Linked DNA regions of Homo sapiens: all the other regions are linked to region 4. The links are contacts of gene promoters, found by promoter capture Hi-C in human tissues and cell types (Jung and others, 2019). All regions are on one chromosome and are shown on one strand. Each heading gives the region's core, a stretch centred on a gene start or on the middle of the fragment in contact. The rest is flanking DNA. Distances are from core to core; before and after follow the strand shown. Region 1 overlaps LINC01799 (long intergenic non-protein coding RNA 1799). Region 2 overlaps LINC01828 (long intergenic non-protein coding RNA 1828). Region 3 has its middle 63 kb from the start of LINC03050. Region 4 holds the start of MEIS1 (Meis homeobox 1). Region 5 overlaps LOC105374785 (a long non-coding RNA gene). Region 6 overlaps LINC01828 (long intergenic non-protein coding RNA 1828). Region 7 has its middle 78 kb from the start of LINC01829.

Region 1 (2,700 bases), core at 161-2,660, 520 kb before region 4:
AATGCCTGACTCTTGGGATGGTGAATTTGGGTCTGCCTGCAGCCTCAGGCGTCCGAGGGCCCTTTGTGATCGCAGGAATGCCAGCACCTCTCATGTGATCTGGAGAAGGCTGGCTGGCTGCCTGCATTGGTGGTGGAAGGTAGTGGCGGAGAGACTGGCCTGCACTTTCTGAGTTGGCAAGACAAGAGATGCAAGCGTGTCTCCCATGAATCACGTGAGGGAGGTGTGGAAGAGAAGACCAGTGTGGCATTGCATTGGGTTCTGTCCAATATGATCTCCTGGAGCAATGACACACTCAGCACCCACAAGGTACAGGTGTCCCCCAAGGGGCCAATAAAGTCCTTTGGGAAGCAGACTAGGTATTAAAAGTAGAAGTGCTACTTTAAGAAACATGTGACAGTATAAATGTCTAATTTAATTATTAATAAATTTATGGATCAGTCTACTTTTACTATGTTTGAGTCAATTTCAAATAATTTCTGTTTTTCCTAATGTGACAATTATATAATTCCATTAATGTGCTGCAAAATAGAAGTAACCTGAAATACAGCAGTTTAGCAATTTTCTTCTCAAGAAGTTTCAGTGACTACCTGGAATACAGTTTCATCCACCAGAGTTAAGAGAACTTCAGGAGGAAAAGCTCTAGCAAGGAATCTCTTAATAGGATAAATATGTGCCCACAAGGAAAGAATGAGTTTAACAGTACACCAGATCCAGAGAGCATGGTACTTCTCAGCAAAGTGGCATTTTTCTATCCCCTTACCTCTCCCCACTCTCTGTCACTCCTACCTTCAACCCCGGGGTAGGAGAAAAGCCACAGGTGGAGGGTGGGGGAAGCTATCTGTGTAAGCTGAGACAGAGTCCAATAGAAAGACAAATGCTTTCCACACACTCACTGTTGCAGGGTCTCAGCCTTAAGCAGGTACAAGCTAGAGTTGAGAGGCAACTTAAAGGTAAGTCAGGCTTTGGAGTTCTGATGTGATTGGGTCTTTTAATTATTTTGTGACTTGGTTCTGTGACTTAATGAACTGAAGTGACCCAGTGACTCTTTATTATTAGACAGTGACCAGAATTGTTGCAAGTAGCCCGAGTTTTCATTCAAAGCAGAAAAAGTGAAATAAAGTTGAATGGAAACTGCCACTCTATCTCAACTTACCAGTTATTCTACCAACAGCAGTACCATTGACAAAGATATCCATATTAATGAGGATGTTAGGGCCTAAGACAGCAAGTCACGGTCTGACAGAAGAAGGAAAAGAAGACACAAGAATAAAAATGAAAGCACTGACCAAGCCACAAATGGCTCATGAGAAAATGTATAAAGTCCTTCAGGAGGCAGACTTGGTGTTAAAATGAGAATTGCTACTTTAAGAAACATGTGAAAGTATAAATGTCTAATTTAATTATTAATACATTTATGGATCAGTCTACTTTTACTATGTTTGAGTCATTTTCAAATAATTTGTTTTTCCTGATGTGACAATTATATAATTCCATTAAAGTGTTGCAAAATAGAAGTAACTTGAAATACAGCAGTTTAGCAATTTTATTAGTGCCAGTCGGGTACTATTCAATAGTCAACCTGCCAGATCCAAGTGACAATAAGCACGTAAAGATGATGACTTACATGTGTATCCAGTCATCCTAACTCCATTATACGCTCTGTAAGACAAAGAACCATGTTTTATCCTTTGGCACTTAATAAATATTTGTCAAATAAATGAATGATTAAGTAAATGAATGAATAAGATATGCAGCCAATTATGCATATCATTTTGATTCCCATTCTTTAACAAATAGAATTCTACTTGTACCTAAATTACCAAATAATTGCCTTATTTTACTACCTGGCTAGTAGAACACTAGCTATAGAAATCCTCTTACTTGATATTGATCTATTTGCCAGTTGTCAATTTTGTTATATTACTCCATCTGTATTAGTTAATGCCATTGAAATAAATGCAAGTCACAGAGCCAGATGAAATGAAAAGTGGGTAAATTGAGTAGCAATATATGTTACCTAATTATTACACTAAGAGTAAAAAAAAAGTACTGTAAAAACTGTTTTTATAGCTTTAAAGACTATAGATAAATATTTTTTACTTTGTAATTTACATTCGTCACCTATAACAGAGGTGATAAGAAATGTAGGAAAATAATTCATTTTTCAAGTGGCAAAGTCATCTTCCTAGTCCCAGGAAACAAATAGGAGGTCGGTTTTCCTATTCTGTGGACTAACTTGCCTCGTGGTGGGCATGGGAACCAGGGAACCAGTTGCCTCCTATCCAAACAAACCGTGTATCAGAAGACTCAGTGAATAAGTTAGATTTTCAGAGAGGAATAATGTTGAGGTGCTATTTTGCTTTCCCTAGTTGGATCTGCCCTACATGGATAAGCCAGCATCTCTCTTTTTCCAGAACAGGCCTTTCCAGGAACAAAATATTAACGGGTGAAAACCTGCCAAATATAATTGGTAAGAATCATTTTAGTCTCAGATAACTGTTTTTTTTTCTCTAATCTTTCTCAGTTGTAGCAATATGATTTCGTCAAAAACAACATTGGTCAGATACTCTAAGAATCCTTTTGGGTCCCCATTAGTGACTCTTTCCACCAAGCTTGACCACAGCAAACTGCAACCGTACTTTCAACATTCCTTTGAGAAAGCAACCCAACATTCAACTACCACAGATTTATGGTATG
Region 2 (2,842 bases), core at 10-2,509, 820 kb before region 4:
CAATGGTATTTGTCATGTCTCCTTATGGCTGGCCTTTTTATCCTTGCTGAAACAAAAGAGATCAAACAATGTCATGTGGTATTACTTGAAGTAAATTCTTGGCCAACTCAACTATTTGCATGATAGTGTCTGGTTTATAACTTCTCTTTATTTTTGTTAGATCAACAGATATTTTTCAGGCCATGCTCCTTTTTGAAAGGGTGAGTATACGGGGAGGGATTATGTGCTAATTTTGCTGGACTATTTTAAAACTTTTAAAAGGAAGAGAAGTAGATGATTAGGCCTTTAGTCATGAGACATGACCTCAGTTTTCTCATAATGTTAAACAGGTAGATGTTGACTTATTGGGCTATTTCTTTCCTTGAACATTGCTCATTGTTGTTAGGGCTATGACATCAGCAGAGGCATGGGAACGTAGTACATTTTCTATAAGTGTGTATCAATTTCCCTATCTCATTGGGCTTGCTTTCATAAATATTTTTTAAAAATTTCTCCACCAGAGCACATCCAAAAGAAATACATGACCCGTATAGATAATTTTAAATTTTTTAGTAGCTACATCAAAAAAGTAAGAGCAGTGAAAGTAATTTTCATAACACATTTTATTTAACCCAATATATCTAAAATATCATTTCAACATAGAATATTACAAAAAATTGCTAATGATACATTTCACATTCATTTTTTCATACCATGTCTTAGAAATCCAGTCCATACAACATACCTCAATTTGAACTAGCCACATTTTAAGTGCTCAGTAGCCACGTGGGGCAGGTGGCCACTGTATTGGACAGCACAGATTGAGACTAAACATGATTACCCCAGCTGTTTTCAAAGTGTGTTTGCAATACCAGTGTAAGATTTTGCAGTATTCAGAAATAATCAAGGCTATAGAAGCCTTATATTATTTTATGTGAACACTTTCAGCGTGTCAAGGCACAAAATAAGTATGTATAAATTTGCTTGCCAGCAGGATTTCTTCTTAGTCACCTATTTAAACTACAAGGATGCCAGTAACCCATAGTGAAACCATAAATATTGGATTTATTATTCCTCCTTTCAATGGTATGACAGACATGTGTACTTAAATGGAGAGACAATTTACAATTGTGAAACATACTTTTTATTATTCCTGTCAAAATTATACTATTTTATTTTTTTTAACTAGAAAAGCCACATGATAAGTAAACTCTAGATTGAAATTCAGAAATATCACCCCTAAGATGAGAATACAGTTGACATACGGTTTGGGTGTCTGGGTCATGGTTTGATTCCACATATGGTGGTTCTTCCATGTAACAAACTGTGATCTCAGCTTGTACCACTCTAGTAAGAAGTCACTATTACTTTGATTTGATTAGCTAATCAGAATCTAAGGTTTAAGTTGAAAGGAAAAACAGGAAGATATATTTAATTCTATTATTTGTGAGATGAGAGGGCTGGACTACAATCAGGGGTTGACAAACTTTTCTGTAAAGAGCCAGGGAGTAAATATATTTTAGGTTTTGTGGGCCACACACTCTGATGCAAGATTCAGCTCTGTTGCTGCAGAGGGAAAGCAGCTACAGAACATATATAAATGCATAAGTGTGGCCAGATTTGGTCCAGTATTTGATCACCGGACGAGGTCAAGGACAATAGACGTGATCTATTTCTACTTCTCCCATCCTCCTAAGCAACGCTGGCTCACTGAATGCAGCATCCCCACTGAGTGTAAATGCAGGTCACAGTCCTTTACAACATAGTACTCCAGGCAACCACTACATGACATTTAGAATTGGCATGTTCATTGAAACTTAGTTTTTGTTATCCCTAGATGATTTATAGGACTGTATCTATTTGAGAAATTATCATTTTTACCATGGATATGCACTTTAATATTTGGAATAAAGAAAAGAGTACTATACACTATGTTTTAAATTTAATGGAGGTGAAAGGAATTTTTAGAAACTTGTGTTGTTTGAGAAAGAAGGCCTGCTACCTGCATTTGTCCTGGGATAGACTGTAAGCTATCTACTTACCTCAGGGTCAATCTGTTCTTGGCAGAAAGATGAAATCTGCTCATCACCATCCAGCCTTTAATCTGAAGAAGAGGAATAGTGATGCCATGGGATATGACATTGTTCAAGGGAGAGGTCTAGTCTCCTTACCAGCAGAGGTAACACCCATTTTGTAGGTCAATTGAAGGACCTTGCTTGAGATCCTGAGGCTCGATTTGAATGTATGGCTGTAGGAGGATAGTATTAGGCTTGGGGGCTTATGAGGAGTAAGAATAACAGACAAAGATATTCTAGAAGGCACTGGAGATAACCACCTTGTTATTAGAGAAAAAAAGGTTAACGTTGCTTCTGTTGATTTTTGGAGAATTCATAGGGTTTTTTTTTTCCTATTGAAAGTTGTAATTCTAAGGCCATAAGGTGGCTTATGCCTGTAATCCCAGCACTTTGGGAGGCCGAGGCGGGTGGATCACGAGGTCAGGAGATCGAGACCATCCTGGCTAACACAGTGAAACCCTGTCTCTACTAAAAATACAAAAAATTAGCTGGGTGTGGTGGCATGCGCCTGTAGTCCCAGCTACTTAGGAGGCTGAGGCAGGAGAAAGGCGTGAACCCAGCAGGCGGAGCTTGCAGTGAGCAGAGATTGCGCCACTGCACTCCATCCTGGGCGACAGAGTGAGACTCCATCTCAAACAAAAAAAAAAAAAAAAAGAAAATTATAGTTCTAAAACAGATTATTTATTAGCGCTTTTCTTTAAGGGCCATAGACTTCCTCTACTCATACTTTTATGCTCTGAGTCATGCCTGTGGCATAAATAATAAAGAACTGATTATTTTTCCATTAC
Region 3 (2,700 bases), core at 169-2,668, 770 kb after region 4:
CCTTCTTCTCCAGGTGCTCCCGGATTTTGCTCTCCAGCTTCCGATTCTTGGTATCCAGTCTCCTCACTCTGTCCAGGTAGGAGGCCAGGCAGTCATTCAGGCTTTGCATGGTCTCCTTCTTGTTCTGGATGTCTTCCATCCTGCCAGAACCCTGGCCATCCCCACGGCCAGGGCCCCAGACCCCATGCCACCCCAGAAGCTGGTGGAGGGGGACATGGAGATCTGGGAACCAGAGCCCCCAGCCCCTGCAGAGATACTGGTCATGCTGCTGACTGGCCGAGCGTCTTAGCTGGGCACCTGGACAGAGCCCAGGGACTGGTAGTTGGTGGAGAAGGTGGAGCGAGTGGTGAAGCTCATACTGTCCAGGGAGGAGAGAGAGAGGACAGAACTCAGGCTTTACCAGTGACAAATAGTGGGTTTTACAAGATGGAAGTTTATTTCTCTCACACATGCAAGTTTCAGTAGTCAGTGTGTGTATGACTCATCAGGGGCCCAGGCTGCTTCCTGCCTACTGCCCAACCTCCTCAACATGCTGCTCCCACTTCTGCGACCAAGATCTCAGCCAACTGCCTTCCATCCAGTGGGAAAGCGGGTTGAGAAGAAGGCCATGCCACCTCCTTTTAAAGATATTTCCTGGAAGTTGCCTACACTGCATGTACCCAATATGCCATTGATCAGAATTTAGTACCATGACAATGGGTTTAGTCTCATGGTGGGTAGCTGTAAGGGAAACTGAGAAATGTTGTCTTTATTCTGAAAAGCCACGTTTGCAGATGAAACTCACTCTATCACTGTAGGAAAAAAAATGGAAAAAAAAATTGGGGGACAACTAGTGTTTCTGCCAAAGTGGTATTTCCCCTCACCTCAAACCTGGTGGAATGAGCTTCCAGGAGACAAAATGGAGCTTGTTCAAGGTCCCCTGAAGTCTGTGCGGTACCAGAGGGTACTGCCAGAACGCTGGATGAATGAGCCTAAAGGGAAAGGGTGGGTAGCAGGGCTGAAAGCAGAGAGAGGAGAGGAGGGCCTGCATGACTGAGGGAGAGCCAGCCTGGCACCCTCTTAAGGGACTTTGTCTAAGATGGCCTCCTGGGGGCCACTGGGACACAGCAGAGTCTCTCTGTGTGAGTCAGATTACTGGAAAACCAAAGAAACTGCAGATAAGAGACTCCCAGAGATGAAAGGCAATCTCCGAAGAATATACAAATTTTTACTTCTGTCCCCAAAGCAAATCAACTTCAAACTTCTCCCACAGCCAGAAGAAGCCATGTCAGGTGGCATTGATGCCAGTCACATGAGACCCTCCCAGCCATTACCTGTCCTCCCTTCCTACCCACCCCAACCTCAGAGCAGTCGGCAACATCGGTGAGCAAGCTGGCTAGGAGGAAAACACTTGTAAGGTCAGGTGAGAAGTCAAGGCTTCCCAAGTCTTTCTCCCTAACTCAGAATTGTAGGCAAGAGAAAGAGAACAGGAGAGGTTTTCATTTTAAATAGAATTGGAATTTTTCATGATTTATCTGGAATTGCACATTCCATTTCTGTGGTTCTCAACCCTGTCTATCCATCTGGAATTCCTGGGAAGCTTTAAAAATACTGATGTCTGGGCTTCATCCTCAAAGATTTTTTTTTCCAATCACCAAAGATTCTTATTTCACTGGTCTTGGCGGTAGCCTAGGCATCAATATTTTTTAAGAGCTGCCCGGGCAATTCTGATGGGCCACCTGGGTTGAAAACCACTGTGATAATATTGAATTACAAACATTTTTGCAAACAAAAGATCCTGGAGTAGCCAGAAAAGTGATGGAACTTTCTCTAGATCTGACCCAGGGAATGGAGAGCTAACCCCACAGCCCAGGCTTAGAAGGAAAGGATGACAACATTTTACAACTGCATCTGCAGAAGTCCTCACTTTCAATCTAACAGTTATATAAATCCTACCTCTGCAAAATCAGAAGCCTCTTCTGGGCAAAGGCCATGACAGGATTCTATGGAGTCTGCACACTGCACCGCACTTGCTACACCCATGGCAAGAGCTTAGTATATGCTTGTTGTCCTGTTGTTAACCTCTGACCTCCATGCTGGGATAAATCAAAGTGTCCTTTCTGATGCACTAAAGGCAAACTAAGGTGACTCCAAGAGAGCCTTAAACTATATCTTGGAACTAATGAAGAAGATTAAAAAATGCATAAGATATAGTTATTATTATGAAGTGGCTAGAAATCTTCTATCAACCTATGACCAAATTCCATGGCCCAGATTATGACTTCTATATTGAAATTGTCCCACATTTAAGCAAATTGTTGTCTCATTAACCTAAGGAAAGGTCTTCCAGAAGGCTAAAATCACCAACATTGCATTGCAGATTTAAGGAGTAGGCTTTGGTGTCTAGGAATGCTTGAAACCTACCCAGTTTAGTGAAGCTGATCCAGTTGATTAAGCCAGAACATACCCCTCCATCTCTGTCTCATTCCCACATCTCCTAACCTGAGGTAGAGGGCAGTCTCACTGTTCACACCATCACCACAACCACCATCCTCAGTCATGGGGAATCCCGCCCCACTAAAAAAGTCAAGGCACAATGACAGAATGCAGGAAAAAGCCAAGAACTTGCAAAACCACCAGCTGACCTCCAGGAACAGCTTTAGTCAGCCAACCCAAAAATGTCACATCCCAAAGTAGAGGCCTCCAGCATCAGGATTCCAC
Region 4 (2,872 bases), core at 20-2,519:
ATATTGCCTTGTATACAAGTCTATACAAATTGAAATTACTATAAAAAGATGAATGTTTTCTGACCAAAAAATTGGCTATACTATGACAAAGTTATTTCCTTTAAAAAGCTGAATACTTCTAGTGATATTAAAGATGAGCATAATCAATAACATATCAGAAGTTTCCAGCTGCATATTTTAGTTTAAACATAACTTTAAACTTCTGATCTCTGAATGTTCAAATTACAGCTTTAGGTATCTAGCTTTTTTAAAAAAAAACCCAGATGATTGTTTGAGCTTGCATTTTTATTTATATAGCTGCTGGTTAGGAATCTATAGATAAATAGATTCCTTTAATTAACAACTCCAAGTAACATACATAAGTCTACAAATGCATTGAATAAATCCTCTCGCTTAGGCCACGGCTTTAGGAGCCTCATTTTTTAAAAGAGAGAGAGAAAAAAAGGAAACTTTTTAGCAGTGTCTTTCGGCCACGTTTCAATTTAATCTCACATTTGAGTTCCACAATTGTTTTTTAATACGTACCCTTTGCGCCATCGGCCTCTCTGGCTCCCTTCCTACTTCAACTTCTAATATATCCTCTTTAAGGCCAGTGTGAAAAGAAACAAATATTCAAACTCCCCCGGAAAAAAAAAAAAAAAAAAAAAAAAGCACGACGAAAAATCCCTTAACGTCTCCAGCAACGTGAGCTACTGGTCCCAGATCTTCGGTCTACGGGACCTGAAGCAAAGCGCCCGAGTCACTGAGCATAAAAGCGCTCCGTTTCCAAGACAGCAGCGGGGGCAAAAAAAAGCAGATCTTCTCTCCCCCAAAAATCAGTTTAAAAAAAAAAAAAGAAAGAAAGAAAGAAAAGGAAAAAAAAGAGCGCCCCTCAGACCCAACTACCAAATCTCATGGCTTTCTGCCACTCCAGCTGTCAATCACAGGCGAGGTTGTCAACGTGGTGAATGAATGATCATCCGCTCTGTCTTCTTCTGGTCAGAACACCTCAAATGTTAATATTCAAATGCACAAAGCCCTAGCGCTCGCTTCCCTTGAATCAGTCCTAATTCCTAATCAGTTTCTCTCTTCTCTCTCTCTCTTTCTTTCTCTCCCTCTCTCTCCCTCTTTGCAAGTGCTGCACTGGAAGGAGATTAGAGAAGGAGGGTTAAAAAAAATGTCTGTCTGAGTTTGTCTTAAAGGAGCCACGATCGATGCTGCCCGCTTGCAGTCCCCGTGCGTGTGTAAAGTGTGTGTTGCACAGGCGGAGAGGTGGATTCCGACCAGAATGCTAGAACCCGGAAGTAGTGGTGGCCATAACAGGTCGCGTCTTACACAATGCATTGGGCTGCAGCAAGTAGGCTCCTCGGCAGGGGTGGGTGCGCGAAGCGAGCTCTGGCCGCACTGGAGAGGCAGAGAGGCGCTCCATTAAATCGCACGCCCAGGCACAAACACCACACACCCAGGGCACACGCACACAAACGCAGGCAGTAGCCCGCGGCCGCCAGCTTTATTTTCAGTATTCTTTTCTCTCCCTCCCCCTGCAGACTCTCTCCCCAAAGCCGACTCTCTTGAAATAAATTGGGAATCAACGCCGGGCAGGCAGCAGCGGGAGTTATTTTGCACAGGGCTCCGCGCATAGACTTCATGACTTTCCTCGAAATTATTGGGGTCTGCCAGTGTTTTTCGGGGCAGGGGGTGATGCGCAAAGTACTGAATTCTCAGAACTAAACACTGCAAGGAGAAAAGTCAAAGCGGGATCGTGGAGGAAAAGGAGGGAGAAGCCAGGTTGGGAAAGCCTCTGCTAAGGAGTCCTGAGAACATGGGGTTGAGGTGGCTCGGGCTTTCTGCAGACCCAGCTTAGAGGTTTCTTTGCTGTTAGAGGTGGACGCCCGGCCGGGGGAAAGAAAATGCTAGCATTTTGTCACTTCGGGTCTGGACTCCCCCACCTCCTAGCCCCGGCGGCTCCCAGCCCCAGCCCAGGCGTCCTGCGCGAAGTAGAGAGGAAGGGAGGGAACAATGAGCTGAGCGCGGGGAATGTGCCCCCAGCGCCTGTTTACAAACACCAAGCTATTTATGATCGTCGGAAAGCGAAACCCGGCGCGGGCTCGCAGCAGCCCAGACCTCGCGGGCGGAGCCGGGGCCGGGGAGCCGCTGGGAGGGAGGCTCTTTCTCCGACCCGCTCGGGGTGAGGCGGCCGTGCGCCCAGGGCGCGGCGCGGCGCGGCGCGACGCTGCCGGAGTGCTAGGCTCCGGCTGCAGCCACCGCTGCCTTTGTCTTAGAGGCGCCGAGGGGCTCCAGCCTCGACCTCTCCCGGGCCTGTAAGAACCTCGCGCCCCACTAGCTCTTTCTCCAGCGAAGCCCTGCCCTCACCACCCCAGACATCCTTCCCCGCGCTCCTCTTTCCCGTCCCCAACCCGGCTCGGCGAAACCTCCCAGTGCCAGAGAAAAAGAAATCCGCTTCGGAAGCTGAGATTTCAGACAAAAGCTGCCTGTACCTACAACTCGGAGGCTCCAACCAACCACTGTTTTTTGTTTTGTTTTGTTTTTAACTTTAACACCTATTGCCTGGGCTTTAATTCCCCCTCACCCCTTCTCTTTATTCTCCCGCTCTAAGCTTCTCCCTTGTGATTATATTTAGTGGCGTTATTTTCGTATTTATATTTCTGTCCGCTGGGCTCTGATCTGCCGAGATGGCTCAGCCGCAGCAGCTCTACCAGTGGCTGGAAACCTCACATCCACAAGCAGGGCTCGCAGCTCGCTCGGCTCCGAGAGGATTTTTCCCCCTCCCTCCAGCTGAAACCTCGCAGAAAACTCCCCCTGCGGTCGACTGGAAAATGAGCTCACCCAAATCTCGGTAGGCAGCCGTGGAGGAGTGCTCGGCCAATCAGGA
Region 5 (2,700 bases), core at 177-2,676, 550 kb before region 4:
CATCATTTTTCTGTGGTATCTGACAGAACTGAATATCACAGTGTGGAAAGATTTTATCAGAAAAGTTTTTCAATTTGTTCTTTAGGAAGATAGATCTGCAAATATTCCCTTTATTCCTAATGATTATAGAATGTAAATCTTGTTATAACCCTATTTCATGTACATTTTATCTCAGGATAAGGTAGATTTCCTTTTAGGCAATTTCTTTTTTGTTTGTTTGTTTTTCTCTGACCAGCAAGCACAATATATGCTTGGTCCTTGGGTTAAGATGAAGCCCAAAAATTCAAACTTTGCATGCTGTGACCATCTTACCATAGGGACATATTAGCTGTATTGTCTTACCCAAACAGTGTCTGTCACATTTCCAATCTGACTACATGTAAAGAATTTCCTGTAGTTCCCATAATCAGTATTTGAATCTTAAAGCATCTTCCAAACCACACACACACACACACACACACACACACACACACACAAGGTATAGTCACCAGGCTATGGTCGAAGCTTCTCATTTTCTACTTATCCACATGACCTTAACTTATTTACCTAAGGAAAAATAGCAACCAGGATTGGGTTTTTTTTTTCCTCTCTAGAAATTTAGGACAATACTATAGAATGTAATTTTATACCAAGCACTGTATCAATAGAGGTTAATGTGATTAAACATCTTTCCTAAGCCTTAGTGAAAACTTTACATGATTCTTACTTTACTGGTGAGGTTTCTAGGATTTGGGACATTTTTAGCTCCTTCTTTTCTGTTCAAGAGGAGAAATGGAAATGTTTCATTGTGCAATTGATTATATTCTTGTTCTCCAAGTGCATGCTGCCTGATGATTTGCATGTGGGGGCAGCCAGAAGGTCTCTGAAACATTTCCCTATAAAACCGTTTTGTTGATAAGCTTTCCCATAAGCATGGCTGAGGAAAATGGGTCAGATTATATTTCTGAAGCTGTTTAAAGAAACATCTTCCAAATTGAGCAATATACTCTAGGCTTTCATAAAGCATCTGAAGTGTTCAAGTTTTCCTCAAGTCAGGCCTGAGAAAAATCCCAAATTTCTCCCCTTTCTCCTGCTCTTCCCAATACCTGAACATGGCCTTCATCCTGCGCAAACTTTATTATCTCACCTAATTACAATAGGTGCTCTTTCAAGGACGGGGGCATGGTTATTGTCCTTCTTTATTTTCTACATATCACAAAGTGTTATTAGATATAATCTCTCCATTTTTATTTCAAGCAGAACAAAATCATTATTAATTAATTTGCAAAGACTTCTAAAGGTTTTTTAGACATGGTCTCCAGGTTGTTTTTATCATTCCACATCTTTTACACTTTTCATGATTTCATTGCTACTTCGAATAGAAAGCAAAGCTGAATTGAGAAATTTAGCTGGAATCTCTATTGCTGCAAATTGTGCAGAGTCCTAATGTTCTGTTTAATATATTCCTTTGGAATCTTGTTTCTTGTGAGGATTTTATTCCCTCTTGCCATACTTGCTGCCTGTGAAAACTGAGCTTCCAAATTCAGAAGTAGGGTGGGTGTTACGTTCCTCAATAGGAATCTCATGGAATGGTGTGTGACGTGATTCTGACAAGGATGGTTGATTTCAACTTCATTCAAAATTAGTTAATGCTAACTTATTTGTGCCTAGTGAACATAGGTGTTCATTTCATTTTTTTTCATTCATTCATGCATTTACTAATTTAATATTTATGAAATAAGTCTCTATGTGATAATCCTTTTGTAGGCTCTTGGGATACAGGATAATTAAGATATAGTTACTGGCCCCAAGAAACACATAGTTTAGATGAAAAGACCACACCTAAATGACTAAACATAAGTTTATGAGAGCAGGGATTTTTCAGTCTTAATAAACAGCTGTCATAGTACCTAGAAGTGCCTGGTACATCAAAGGCCCTCAGTGAATATTTGTTGAATAAACCAATGACTAATATGACATAATGATGGCAGAGGCTTAGTCTATCTTTTCACTGTTACATCCCCAACACCTAGAACAATGCCTAGTTTGTACAAGGAATTCAATTGTACAAGGAATTCAATAAATATTTAGCACTAGCTATGGGACTGGCATGTGATTGGTATGATGATGATGATGATGATAACAATGATAATAAAGAAAACATTAACACTTACTATGTGTCAGTACTTGCACCACCTCTCAAAAAATTATTTAATCTTCGTAACCGTCCTATGAGATTGAAACTGTTACTATTCCCATTTTCAGGTGAGAAAAAGTTAGGTAAGCCATGCATCTAAGGCACACAGCTAGAATTACGGAGCTGAGATTTGAAAGTAAATGATCTGCTTCAACAACACACCCTCTTCAACACTTTGCTACATGCTCAATGCATGTCTGTTCAATTGACTTATCTTCAACTACAGCCAGGCTTTTGAGAGTCAAGAATAACAGGTTAACTGGTCTGAATGTTATTCTCTTGTTTTGTTTTTTTTTTTTTGACAAATCTCCTCAAAACATAAATTCACATAATACAATGAGTAGGAAATATGATGGATATATTAAGTTGAAAGAAAACATTGGTAGCTAAAGTCCAAAGAATACGCATCAGTCACCAAGTGGATAGATATGCAACTTGCCACCATGGACTATGTTACTCATATTTTTCTAGCACTTCACTGCTTGAACATATAGTACTCCATGGAATCCTCACTTACTGAACGT
Region 6 (2,963 bases), core at 392-2,891, 840 kb before region 4:
CTTCCTGTCAGCCTGTCAACCATTTTTGCGGTACGTACACCTGGTAGCATTGAGGCTAGTGCTCACCGCCTAGAGTAGCTCAGGAAAATAAGTGAGTGCTACCCTGATTTGCGTGCTGGGTGGGGTGATTACCCGGCCAGCACTGCCACCTGGCTGATGGCCACATTTCAGAGTCCCGGTAGCCCAGGCACTTCTGCTTACTTGTGTGCCCTTTGGACAAGGGAGACAAGAACTCCCTGTTCTGTCTCCACTTCCTTGAGATAAAAGAGCAGCCGTCATCTGCTTTGCCAGGGTAAACTGAAGCCATCTTTGACCACATAAAGATGATTATAGACCCCAGAGCAAAGTATCAGTGCTACATAATGATAACTAGAAGGTGTTTGTTGGCATATACAAATCTCAGGATGGCAGGATAGATGCAAAATGCCCAAAGATTTTTGGTCCAAAATGTGTTGCAATTTTAAACAAAGAATGGAAATGTATGGCAAGAGCCTATCTCCTGAGAAATGGATGCATCCCTGGCTGCTCATTTTGCCCATTAAGTACAAGATTTGCTAATCATCTAGGGGTGACCAGATTCCTTCAACTCTTCCAAGCCATTTGCTTGGAAAGTGAACAAAATGGACCATGAAGGTGGTGCTCGTTTCTAATTCAATGTGTATGCCTCCCCAGTGTCTTTCTAATGCATTCACATCACAGCAGAATGCATCTATACTAACATATCATTTAAATTTTCATTATCTTTGCTCTCTTAATCATAGTCCGGATTCAGTTATACTATAATAAAACCAGGCACATTTACTGAGCACTTACTATGTATCAGATAATGGGTCAAGTCCTACACATATATTTAATTCTTTCCACAACTCATAAGGTAGGTTCTAGTTTCATTCCCATTTTGCATAAGGAAATGGAAGCTTAGAGTCACAGTGGTGTGCCTAATGGAATATGCTGTGCTTCCCCAGATACACCGTGCCCTCTAGCTACCCAGATTCAGGACCTTCACAGAAGGGTTATCTTCACAGATAGGGTTATCTTTTCTAACTCTGGAGTTGTAGCTGTAGATAATGGTAGTCACAATTCCATACAGAGCAGGGGCTCATTTGGATTCTCTTTCATCCCAAAGTCACAGAAGTAGGTGAGTAGGGCTCCTGCTAATTCCAGTCCTCCCACTTGGTCCTGATGCTACAGAACCACTCCTGAGCAAATGGTGCACAGTGCCCATTGCTGTGTTGTCTTTTGGACAAGGTACTTATTGGAACCAAATAGTACCTTCTATTTCTCTCTCTTTTTTTGTGAAAGATCACATGTATAAAAGAAAGGACATATGAAAAATAAGTCTTTAATTCACAGCCCAAACTATTGCTTCCTAGTTTGAGAAGCTTACTAGTATCTGGTCCATGCAGTTGGATATACTTTTATGTTTTATTTAAGAAATCCAGAGTGATTTCATTTTCTTCTTCTTTGGACCTTTTTTTTTTTTTTTTTTTCTTTTTCTTTGGAGGTCACCATTTCTGAGCTGGAAAGTTAGGACTCATTGGATGATCATGAATACATAAGAAGGTAGAAATCGGTGAAGGGCCCACTATTAACCTATCATTTAGAAATGATTTTCATGGGTCATTTATTAAGAGCCCATGGAAAGAGTTCTGCAAAGATCCCTGAAAGAAATGCAGCTCTTGCCCAGTCATCACCTTTTACGGTTGAGAAAGTTGAAGCTCAGAGAAATTATAAACTCCACCAAGTTTTGTACAGGTTAGTAGCAGAGTCTAAAGTCTGCTGTTTTACCCTTATTTTGGTGTTCCTTTAACACGTATTATTGTACATCTACTGTCCTAGGAACTGAGCAAATTACATTTGTTGTTTACCCCAAACTTTGATATTAGGAAAGAAAAAAACATGTATCTTAAAACAACGAAAGGAAGATCTGTTTCCTTTTTCATCTTTTGTGCATTTGCCCTTTTTCTAGTTTCTTAAGTTTAATGTTTCTTTTTTAGTAACCTATAGGACATTGCACTAGGCCTGAAGGAGAAAGAACATTTTGGGCTGCAGTGACAAGAAAGTGATAGTTTAATGCAAGGTTCCCCCAAAATGTTATGAGAAGCTTCTATTTTACATTTTATTTTCATTGTTGGTTTTTTGTTTTTAAAGATGGTGAGTGGGGCAAAAGTGAAATTTCCACTGAAGTGAATTTTGGTCTTTTTTACTGTGATTCATGGTAAGAAAAAGTTATATATTATAACTTAGCATATATCTAATATATATACATACAGACACATACATATATATACACACATATAGTTATAACTGAAACATGAAAAGTGTCATGAAATATACTCACGTAAGAATAAAAACAGTAAATTTAACATCAAATATGATTTTATTAATATTCAAATACTGTAAGATGTGTCACCCTTTTTATTCTACTCTATTTCATTTTTTTTTAAGGTAAACAAAGCTCAGTAAATTAACCAAAGCAATTTGGGCAAATGTTTCAATTCTCCATTTAATTTTGTTTGTAAAAATACAGAAAGGTCAGGTGACCAGTGAATTTTGGTCTGGGTTAGCCCTCTATCTCAGACTGAGAGATTTGCCATTTAAATGCTAAGGGTACAGAGGGAAATCTATCCCTAATTTATTTTTTGCCTTCAAATTTCCTGAAATCCAGTCATGTGAGTAATCTTGAGCGATAACTGAACCTCTCTGAACTTTCATCACACCTGTTAAATGAGGGGCAGGTATACATGACTCTCATGATCCCTTCCAGCTTCAAAAGTGTGTGATTCCATGGTATTTTTTTATTTGATACCTGGATACTTGTGAAAACAAAGTCCTCTCAAATGTATTCTATGCATAAACTAAGAATTTCTAGAACCACAAATGTATTCCTCTTGAAGTTACTCTAAAATGTTGACAGATGTGAAAGTGAGCATTATCGAATGCTTAGTTTTACATTTGCATTC
Region 7 (3,052 bases), core at 236-2,735, 860 kb before region 4:
AGACTGAAAGCCCACATGTAAGGCATATAGTGGAAAAGATTTCCACTTTTTTTGTGTGAAAGATGATGCTGAAGTTCCCTTTCAATTTTAAGTCTATGAATCTGGACAACAGAGACCCATAGTGAGTGAGATTTAATCTTTGCTGATTCAGAAGGTGCTTCAAGGCTTTTCAGTGCCTCATGGACATCACTGTCATCATCAATTACAAGTCCTGGGATGAAACGAAATGTTGGATTCCTAGCTAAAAGAAGACCAGCTAAAACAAACTTGTTAAATATTTTTTTTAAACTACTGCCAGGAACCAAAGTTCCCTCTAGCTCAAGGGTCTGTAAACCTTTTCTTAAAGGGCCAGTTAGAACATCTTTTAAGTTTTTCAAGTTTTTTTTTTTTTTTGCGCTACATAGCCTCTGTCACAGCTACTTGACGCTGCCATCAAAGGGTGAAAGTGAATGTAGGTGATATGTAAATGAATGAACAGGGCTATGACCCACTATAGCATTATTTATAAGCAACTTGGTGGCACTGATTTGTAATTTTCCAACCTCTGCCCTAGATTAAACATCTCCCAATTTTTCACACATTTTTCCTCATCTGGTGACTATACAAAGAGCCAGTCTCCAAACCTAATTACAATGGTTTAAGACCACCTAGGATTTTTTTTATCTTAATGTAGACCATAGATAATGAAATAAAAGAAGAACCAATAAAATAAGTGAATTTGCAAGGGATTTCCAACACTAAAAAAAGAAGAAAAAAAAACAAACTTTGAAAGAAGAGAGTTCTCACAATTGCCTATGGGAAATTAACTAGGACCATCAATTGAGCTAAAATTCTCTCCAAGGATTTAGTTGACATACAGCCAGTGTTCACTATGATGATCATAGCCAAACATTATTTGTGCAAGTATCTACAAATGAATTTAGAGGAAATTGTAATTTTTCTCCTTCATCATTTAAGTGATGAGAAGCCCATCAAAATAATGGCACATGGTAGGGCTGACTGTGCTGCGTGGAAATGATGTTTAAATAATACAGTGCCAGAGCGCCTCTGTCTAATTACCTAAGCACTATTGTGATGGATAGTTTAGAAACATTGAGGTAGCTATTGATAAAGCAAATGGAAAATGTGAATGTTCTTCAAGTTTCTGACACCAGAGATGGACATTGAACTGGTTTAAATGGAAGGCTCATGGCTTCTTTCAATTGCTTGAAGCTTCCTCTGGAGTTAGATTATTTCAATTTCACTGAGTGAAAGTTAGAATCAGCACAGGCCTTTCTGTAGGACATTTTAATTACTCCTAATTTAAAATATTAAAAATCACTATTTTTTTTCCTTTTTAAAGAAAGAAAGTCTGTCATTGACTCACTTCTGATTTTAAAATACCGAACTTATGAAGAATGCATGCCCAAAACACCCGGACAATTCTGCAGAAAGGAGATGCTTGTGTGGGGACATCTCTGGAGTTGCTATTTATGCACTGTGAAAATCTGCAGGAGTCGTGTGATCTCTCAGCCTCATTTTTTAAAAAATTAAGTCTACAATATGAGCTCAAATGCCATTGTGGTAGTTAAGAATATAACCTATGGGGAAGCATTCTATAAAACAAATAAAACTGTGACTGTTATTGATGTTGTTAAATGATTACAAAAATAATAAGAATATTTAAGCTGAACAAAAATTAATTCATTGAAAAAATCAGTCAACTCTCCTCCTGTCTTTAAAAAACTGCTTTAATTGAATCACAATAATTAATGAAGTGGCCAAATGTCAAGATAGCCACAATTTTTTTACTAATAAGGATTCTACTATATGAAATTTCTCTGGTGTTCCCTTTAGAAACCTTACAGAGAAATTGATGATTACTTTCTTGATGGAGTATGTGGGGCCTTTGTCTCCTCACACTCTTTCCAGAGGGTTTATTGGTCTTCCACTATCCATTTCAGTGGCTACTTTGAAAAATGTTTACCCCCAAATACTTAAGTTCATGATTCTGCTTGTGCAAAATTTTTTGTCTGATTTTTGGTGAGAGAAAAGCCAAGTTCATTATATATATGTTTGTATATACCTCCCTGAAATAATGAAATCAAATATATATTTGATATATATATTTAATCAAATATACATATTTTCCAACTTTTAAGTTCAGGGGTATATATGCAGGATGTGCAGGTTTGTTACATAGATAAATGTGTGCTATGGTGGTTTGCTGCACAGATCAACCCATCACCTAAGTATTAAGCCCAGCACCCGTTAGCTGTTCTTTCTTATGCTCTCCCTCTTCCCACTCTCCACCCTCTGACGGGTCCCAGTGTGTGTTGTTCCCCACCATGTGTCCTGTTAATTTTTCAAGTGTAAGAAATATGAAGTTATTGTAATGTTCTACCTGAAAACTTACTATTTAGTTAACATTAGTTATCAAAGTAGCAAAAATAATATATATTACTTTATATAAAAACCATATATGACCATATATATATATATATATATATATATACATAAAATTGAAATCAGGTAGTTTATCTTGGCCTTAAAGAAAAACTCTAACATATTTACTGCTTAAACATGAATGCCTTTATAAACTTTTTTCCTTTCCAATCTGTCTCCAGACTACCCACAGGTCTTTGGTTCATCTCCCTACTTAGGCTGAACTCTTCAATAACTACAAATTCATAAACACTGCAATTTATTCTGTAACAAGCTATAAATCTTCTTTTTGTTGTTTTTACATTAGAAACAGAGCTAATGTTTATTGAGCTCTTGTCCTGTGTGAGATACTTTACTTGATTTGTTTTCATTTCATCTTTATAGCAACACTCTGGGAAGTAGATATTATTATTGTTATTTTAAAGATGAGGAAACTAAACATTAGAGAATAAAATTGGTTAAGGACATACATTTAATGAATTATGTAGCTAGTGTTCAAACCTAGGGTAGTTTGATAATGAAAACTCAAATTCTAATCCCTGTCTTTTAATCTATCCTTTAAATTTGTTAATTTAGAAATCACCAATCAGAATAATCTCTTGACATATATATAATATATTCTATATAA

Evidence for each region. Contacts are between HindIII fragments. The study calls those that stand out against the background at their distance.
Region 1: a contact is called between a fragment that was not itself captured here and the fragment with the promoter of MEIS1 in region 4, in 1 of the 25 tissues and cell types used here (H1 embryonic stem cells).
Region 2: a fragment that was not itself captured here is called in contact with the fragment with the promoter of MEIS1 in region 4 in 1 of the 25 tissues and cell types used here (heart right ventricle).
Region 3: a fragment that was not itself captured here is called in contact with the fragment with the promoter of MEIS1 in region 4 in 1 of the 25 tissues and cell types used here (H1 embryonic stem cells).
Region 5: a fragment that was not itself captured here is called in contact with the fragment with the promoter of MEIS1 in region 4 in 1 of the 25 tissues and cell types used here (mesenchymal stem cells).
Region 6: a fragment that was not itself captured here is called in contact with the fragment with the promoter of MEIS1 in region 4 in 1 of the 25 tissues and cell types used here (IMR-90 fibroblasts).
Region 7: a contact is called between a fragment that was not itself captured here and the fragment with the promoter of MEIS1 in region 4, in 1 of the 25 tissues and cell types used here (H1 embryonic stem cells).

What each region holds. Positions count from the first base shown.
Region 1 is chr2:66,957,750-66,960,449 of GRCh38, reverse strand. All of the region lies in intron 4 of LINC01799 (long intergenic non-protein coding RNA 1799), which reads right to left. Among named protein-coding and RNA genes, the nearest start is that of LINC01628, 37 kb to the right of the region's middle. The HindIII fragment of the contact is 4,734 bases long and covers 1-2,700 here.
Region 2 is chr2:67,257,154-67,259,995 of GRCh38, reverse strand. The region is part of intron 1 of LINC01828 (long intergenic non-protein coding RNA 1828); the gene reads right to left. Among named protein-coding and RNA genes, the nearest start is that of LINC01829, 43 kb to the right of the region's middle. The HindIII fragment of the contact is 7,091 bases long and covers 1-2,842 here.
Region 3 is chr2:65,664,126-65,666,825 of GRCh38, reverse strand. It overlaps the pseudogene KRT18P33. Among named protein-coding and RNA genes, the nearest start is that of LINC03050, 63 kb to the right of the region's middle. RefSeq lists enhancers at 169-218, 309-358. The HindIII fragment of the contact is 5,708 bases long and covers 1-2,700 here.
Region 4 is chr2:66,433,522-66,436,393 of GRCh38, reverse strand. MEIS1 (Meis homeobox 1) reads right to left here and starts at 1,269. Exons shown (of 13, transcript NM_002398.3): 1 at 526-1,269. The coding sequence starts at 537. RefSeq lists enhancers at 1,310-1,409, 997-1,873, 2,743-2,872, a promoter at 971-1,511 and a silencer at 2,118-2,217. The HindIII fragment of the contact is 8,281 bases long and covers 710-2,872 here.
Region 5 is chr2:66,984,279-66,986,978 of GRCh38, reverse strand. The region is part of intron 1 of LOC105374785 (a long non-coding RNA gene); the gene reads left to right. Among named protein-coding and RNA genes, the nearest start is that of LINC01628, 63 kb to the right of the region's middle. The HindIII fragment of the contact is 3,017 bases long and covers 1-2,700 here.
Region 6 is chr2:67,274,846-67,277,808 of GRCh38, reverse strand. All of the region lies in intron 3 of LINC01828 (long intergenic non-protein coding RNA 1828), which reads right to left. Among named protein-coding and RNA genes, the nearest start is that of LINC01829, 61 kb to the right of the region's middle. The HindIII fragment of the contact is 4,406 bases long and covers 1-2,963 here.
Region 7 is chr2:67,291,542-67,294,593 of GRCh38, reverse strand. No RefSeq gene overlaps it. Among named protein-coding and RNA genes, the nearest start is that of LINC01829, 78 kb to the right of the region's middle. The HindIII fragment of the contact is 8,300 bases long and covers 1-3,052 here.